Regions from separate parts of the Homo sapiens genome. Here region 1 is linked to region 2. The links are contacts of gene promoters, found by promoter capture Hi-C in human tissues and cell types (Jung and others, 2019). All regions are on one chromosome and are shown on one strand. Each heading gives the region's core, a stretch centred on a gene start or on the middle of the fragment in contact. The rest is flanking DNA. Distances are from core to core; before and after follow the strand shown.

Region 1 (3,716 bases), core at 128-2,627, 210 kb after region 2:
AGAGACGATTGAACAATTTTAAGCCAACAAATTAGATAACCTAGAGGAAATGGATAAATTCTTAGAAACATATACCTGCCAGAATTGAATGAGGAACAAATAGAAAGCCTGAACAGACCAATAACAAATAGTTATTAAAGTAGTAATTAAAATCCTCCCAACAAAGAAAAGCCCAGAACCAAATGGCTTCATGGCTGAATTCTACCAAACATTCAAATAGTACCAATCCTTATCTTCCAAAAACATAGAACTAGAGGAAATACTTCCAAACTCATTTATTTTTATTTTTAGTTTTATTTTCAGAGATGGGGGTCTTGCTCTGTTACCCAAGCTGGAGTGCAGTGGCATGATTATAGCTCACTGCAGCCTTGAACTCCTTGGCTCAAGCAGTCCTCCCACCTCAGCCTCCCAAGTATCAGGAACTACAAGTGCATATAACCATGCCTGGCTAATTTTTAAATATTTTGTTGGAGACAGGGTCTCACTATGTTGTCTAGTCTGGTGTCAAACTCATAGTCTCAAACAGTCCTTCTGCCTCAGCCTCCTGAGTTACTGGGATTACAGGTGTGAGCCACTGCACCCAGCCCAGACTCATTTTATAAGGTCACCATCACCTGATACCAATTTTCCAGACAAAGACACCACAAGAAAACAAAACTAGTGAGGTGTGGTGGCACATACCAGTAGTTCCAGCTACTCTGGAGGCTGAGGTGAGAGGATCACTTGAGCCTGGGAGTTGGAGTCCTGCCTGGGCAACATAGTGAGACCCCATCTCTAAAACAAAAGCAAAGACAAAAATGACCTAAACAACAACGACAACAAAATAAATGAAAACTATAGGCTAATATTTCTGATGAACACAGCTGCAAAAATCTTCAATAAAATACTAGCAAACTGAATTCAACAATACATAAAGAATATTATACATCATGACCAAGTGGGATTCATCCCAGGGATGCAAGTATGGTTTAACATACACAGATCAATCAGTGTAATATAGCACACTGTGTTAAATAAAATATCTAGAAATAACTTTAACAAAGGAGGTGAAATATCTCTACAATAAAAATGATTAAACATTAATGAAATAAATTGAAGAAGACACAAATAAATGGAAAGGTATTCCATGTTTATGGATTGGAAGAATTAGTATCATCCATACTACCCAAAGCAATATACAGGTTCAGTGCAATTCCTATCAAAATTTCAATGGCATTCTTCACAGAAATAGAAAAAAGAATTCTAAAATTCATATGAAACCACAAAAGACCCTGAATAGCCAAAGCAATTTTAGGAAAAACAAAGTTGGAGGCATCACACTTCCTGATTTCAAATTATGTCACAAAGCTATAGTAATCAAAGCAGTATAGTACTGGCATGGGAACAGACAGTGGAACAGGATAGAGAGCCCAGAAGTAAACCCAAGTATATACAGTCAAATAATTTTTAACAAGGGCACCAAGAAGACACAATTGGGAAAGAATAGTCTCTTCAATAAATGGTGTTGGGAGAATGGATATCCACATGCAAAAGAATGAAACTAGACCTTTATCTTACACATACACAAAGATAGTTATCTTACACAACTAAAAATAGATTAAAGACCTAAACATAACGCCTGAAGCCATGTAACTCCTAGTAGAAAACATAGGAGAAAAGCTCCTTGACATTGACTTTGGCAATGATTTTTTGGATATCACATCAAAAAATCGGGCAGCATTTGGCTGGGCGTGATGGCTCACGCCTGTAATCGCAGGACTTTGGGAGGCCGAGGCGGGTGGATCACGAGGTCAGGAGATGGAGACCATCCTGGCTAACACGGTGAAAACCCATCTTTACTAAAAATACAAAAAAATTACCCGGGCAGGGTGGCAGGCGCCTGTAGTCCCAGCTACTCGGGAGGCTGAGGCAGGAGAATGGTGTGAACCCGGGAGGCAGAGCTTGCAGTGAGCCAAGATTGCGCCACTGCACTCTAGCCTGGGCAACTGAGCAAGACTCTGTCTCAAAAAAAAAAAAAAAAAACAAACTCAGGCAACAAAAGTAAAAATAAGTGAGACTACGCCAAATTTAAAAGTTTCTACACAGCAAAAGAAACAATCCACAAAGTGAAAAGGAAAAGGCATCCTATGGATTGGGAGAAGATATTTGTGAACCATATGTTTGATAAGGAGTCAATATCCAAAATATATAAGGAGCTCACATAACTCAATAAAAAACACATAACCCAATTTAAAACTGGGCAAAGGACCTGAGTAGACATTTCCCCCAAGAGCACATAAAAATGACGAACAAGTATATGAAAAGGTACTCAATGTCACTAATCATCAGAGAAAAGCAAACCAAAACTGAAATGAGATATCATTTCACATCTGTTATAATGGCTATTACCAATAAGATGAAAGATAACAAGTGTTGGCAAGGATGTGGAGAAAGGGGAATCCTTGTACACTCTTGGTAGAAATGTAAATTGGTGCAGTTTTATGGAAAACAGTATGGAGGTTCCTCAAAAAATTAAAAATAGAATGACTGCATGACTCAGCAATCTCCCTTTTGGGTATGTATCCAAAGGAAATGAAATCAGCCCTTCACAGAGATATTTGCACTCCCATGTCCATTGCAGCATTATTTACGGTTGTCTAGATATGGAAACAACCTAAATGTTCCTGATGGATGAGTAAATAATAAAATTGTAGTATATATACAATGTAATATTGTTCGGTCTTAAAAAAGGAGAATCCGCCATTTGCAACAACATGAATGAACCTGGAAGACATTATATGTCAAGTGAAATAAGCCAGACACAGAAGTAAAAATACTGCATGATCTCACTTTATATAGAGAATCTTTAAAAATATGTCAGATACATAGGAACGAAGAGTAGAATGGTAGTTACGGGGGATGGGGGTTAGGGGTGGAGGTGAGGCAGGAAATGGGGAGATGTAGATCAAAGACTACAAAGTTGCAGTTATGTAGGATGAAAAAAATCTAGAGATCCAATGAATGTACAACATGAGGACTATAGTTATAACTAGAAGTTTGCCAAGACAGTAGACTTTAGATGTAATTACCACAAAAAAGTGGAAAGAGGTTAAATATCTGAGATGATGGATGTTAAATCACTGGACTGTAGTAACCACTTAACTATATATCTAACCATGTAACTGTAATATGTCTATGAAAACACCAAGTTGTACACCTTAAGTATGTATCAAAAAAAGAAAAAAGTCTTATTCAACTACTTAGAATTCTGAGTATTCTGAAATGACTGAATACCCCCTCATGTGCTGTTAGCTTTCATACATGTACTAAGGCTCTCTGCATCCATGGAATTCAATGTGTGCTACTTTTCTTTTTTTTCTTTTGGAGACAGAGTCTTGCTCGACTGTCGCCCAGGCTGGAGTGCAGTGGTGTGATCTCGGCTCACTGCAACCTCCGCCTCCCAGGCTCAAGCAGTTCTGCCTCAGCCTCCCAAGTATCTGGGATTACAGGCACCTACCACCACACCTGGCTAATTTTTGTATTTTAGTAGAGACGGGATTTTGCCATCTTGGCCAGGCTGGTCTTGAACTCCTGATCTCAAGTGATCCACCCGTGTCGGCCTCCCAAATTGCTGGGATTACAGGTGTGAGCCACCACACCCAGCTAAAGTGTGCTACCTTTCTTTTGCTTCTGCTGAAATTTGCTGATTTCTGCTATCTGAAGTAAATATGCAATTT
Region 2 (3,209 bases), core at 457-2,956:
AGCTAGGATGGTCTCGATCTCCTGACCTCGTGATCCGCCCACCTCGGCCTCCCAAAGTGCTGGGATTACAGGCGTGAGCCACCGCGCCCAACCGCAATTCTCCAAGTTTTAATGATGGTTCTTTTTTGTCTCCTTACTCTCTTAAACACATTCATCCGTTTCAACAAGTTTTTTTTTAACAAGTTATTTTTTATTTTATTATTATTTTTTTAAAGCTCTGGTTAGTGCTAGATACTGTAAATCCTGATTAATCAGACATGGACTTAGCTTGCAAGGAGCTTCCAACAGAGACGTTAATAGGTATACAAATACCAGTAGCAGATTGAGACAGCCATAACAGATGCATAGACAAAGATTATTTCCTGTTAAGAGGAGTGAACAATTATTTATGGGGAATAAGGAGACTAAGAGAGAAAAGAATCAGAAAAAAGCGCCTCCAGGAGGCAGCATGTAAGCGGTACCTTTCAGAAAAGAAACGGTCGTGCCAAGATAATTACAAGTGACAGATGACAAGCTTTTCTGGGAAACATTGTCCAAGAAGGAATAGGCAAGAACTGCAGTCAAGCAGAATTACATATGCAAAAGAGCAGTGAGAAATAAGAGAAAATGGCAAATTGCAGACGGCCCTGAATGCTGGGCTAAGAAGTCTGGCTTGAGATAAACGTCCAGCTAAAGCAGGTCTGAGCGTTTTTTCCAGAGAGGTGAGGGAGAAGGGCACGTATCTATTAGGTTGATGCAAAAGTAATTGCGGGTTTGCCATTATTTTCAGTGGCAAAAACCACAATTACTTTTGCACCAATTTATTTATTTATTTTTAAGACAGAGTCTCGCTCTGTTGTCCAGGCTGAAGTGCAGTGGCATGATCTCAGCTCCACTGCAACCTCCGCCTCCCCGGCTCAAGTGATCCTCGTGCTTCAGCCTCCCGAGTAGCTGGGACTGCAGGCATGCGACATCACGCCCGGCTAATTATTTTATTATTTTATTATTTTTTATTTTTAGTAGAGACGGGGTTTCACCATGGTGGCCAGGCTGGTCTCGAACTCCTGAGCTCAGGCCATCTTCCCTCCTCGGCCTCCCAAAGTGCTGGGATTACAGGCGGGAGCCACCGCGCCCGGCCTACCGTCCTACGAGGTAGGCATCAGGATCCCTCCACAGCGAAGGCGCCCCCACTACCTATCTGTCTACAGGCGTGCCTTTTACGGGCTGTGCTATGGACAGCACTTGGGATGTCAGATTGACCACTAATAAGGTAGATCCGTATACACTGCTGCGGGGCTGAGTAACTGGTAGAGGGTCCCACAGTTAGAAAGCACCTGGACCTTGGCTGGAATTGGCGGAAAGTCCAGGCAGCGGAGAGGCGCGGTCCCTGGGACTGGGTGCGCTCTTGGCACCAGGGTCAGGGCCCACAGGCTCCAGGAAGCCCACGCGCTCCGCCGGGTCGCACCAGGTTGGCTGTCCGAACGCAGCCAGCTGGCGGGGCGGGGCCTTCCAGCTGGGGGCGGGGTCTTGACAGCTAGGGGGCGGGGCCTTGCAGCTGGTAGGGTGGGGCGGGCCGCGGGCTGTGGGCTTTGGGAGGGGTGCGGACTAGCAGAGGCCGAGAGCGGCGAGCCGCGAGCCAGGCAGTCCGGGGCATCCAGACTGCAGGCCGCGCCCAGGCCGCGCCCAGGCTGCGCCGCCCGCCTGCCTCCCGCGCTGCCGCGTCGCCAGTGCTAGCGCTCCTCTCCAGCATGCTGCGGCGGGGCAGCCAGGCGCTCCGGCGCTTCTCCACTGGCCGGGTGAGTCCGGCCCGGGCGAGCGTCCCGGCTGTCACCCTGTCCTGGTTTCCAGACTCCGGGGCGGGAGGGCCGGGGCGGTGGGGCTGGGGATGAGCAGCGATGCTTAGACTTTGCTAAACACCAAGACAGCGTTTAAAACAAACAAACAAACAAACAAAAACAGAGAGACCTCAGAGGAGGGCTTGGGGAGGGTCCCGGATGGGAACTGGCACGCAGGCCATTGTCTTCTGCCGGGAGGGGGCTGAGGATGCAGTTTTTGGACGTGTCAAGTCTGGCTGGGATGGCAAGGTGGGAACAGTCACTTGGTAAGGAGGACAGAGTCTGCTTCCTTTCCTTTTTCACTTCAATCATGAGATCCCTGGTCAAGAGCTGGAGCCATATGGAACCGAGACTGTCTCCTGGAGGAGGGGAGTATCAAGTCAATAGGGTCCTCGTTGGCGGCCTGGGAGGTGTAAGCGCTCGAGACTGGCACGCAGGGCCGGTTCAGATAATGGCACTCAAAGCTGATGGCTGCAAGCTCAGTATTCCTGAGCTGAGCTGCAGATGGCAAAATTTCTAGAATTGCCAGGCGCTGCAGAGGCAGCCACGCTGGAACACTATTCTACTGTAGCACAAGAACCGAGCTCTGGCCCAGCCCCGCGCCTTGGAATTGCATCAGCTCCTCCAGAAATGGAACCGAGAGAGGACACGTTGCACTGCGGTGCTGCCTTCAGCACCCAGGGGGCCTCGGGACTGTTTAGGGAAGAGAGAGAGAGAAAAAAAAAAAATAAAAACTGTCTTATGTATCGTATCTTTTATAGGAAGTACATAAAAGAATTTGCTTATCGATTCTTTTTCTCGGCCATGCCAAAGCCATATGTACATATGTATATATTCAGATGTAAAAAACTTGGAGGCAGAGAGAAGTCTTGAGTAGCACCAAAAACTGGCCCAAACTTGCATCAAAGGAAAAGCTTTCTGTATCCCAGACAACCCCAAATAATAAGAATTCGTTTTACTCTTTGCAACCAGTTCTAGTTACTTTGAGGTATAGTCACCTTTTATAAAACGAGGGGTGGGGGTGGGGAAGACCTGCTCTGCTAGGACTTTGGCCTGCTCTCCTGGACCCCTCATTAGCTTCCCCCACCACGTGGCACATGGGATCCCAGATGGATAGCACAGAAAGCAACGGGCTGTGCCCAATGCCTGAGCCTGTTTTGTTGGCCTCCTCTGTCAACACCTTTCACTGACTTGTCTTTTTTGGTGACCAGAAGGAAGTCTTGCAGAATGAAAAGATTTTGATAGTGCGGTTTGCATAAGATTTCAGTAATAAAAGGTAAACATCTCAGGTGGCAAATGGCATAAACAAAACTATGGATGTGGGGAAGAACTGGCGTGATCAGGGTCTAACTGTACGCAGGGGTGCATATGGAAAAGCAGTGATACTCATGGCTG

What was found. Contacts are between HindIII fragments. The study calls those that stand out against the background at their distance.
Region 1: a contact is called between a fragment that was not itself captured here and the fragment with the promoter of ALDH1L2 in region 2, in 5 of the 25 tissues and cell types used here (heart left ventricle, lymphoblastoid cells, mesenchymal stem cells and 2 more).

The regions. Positions count from the first base shown.
Region 1 is chr12:104,872,380-104,876,095 of GRCh38, reverse strand. All of the region lies in intron 6 of SLC41A2 (solute carrier family 41 member 2), which reads left to right. Among named protein-coding and RNA genes, the nearest start is that of SLC41A2, 84 kb to the left of the region's middle. The HindIII fragment of the contact is 5,392 bases long and covers 1-3,716 here.
Region 2 is chr12:105,082,955-105,086,163 of GRCh38, reverse strand. ALDH1L2 (aldehyde dehydrogenase 1 family member L2) reads left to right here and starts at 1,706. Exons shown (of 23, transcript NM_001034173.4): 1 at 1,706-1,775. The coding sequence starts at 1,728. RefSeq lists a silencer at 1,399-1,828 and enhancers at 2,329-2,568, 2,063-2,863. The HindIII fragment of the contact is 4,053 bases long and covers 1-3,209 here.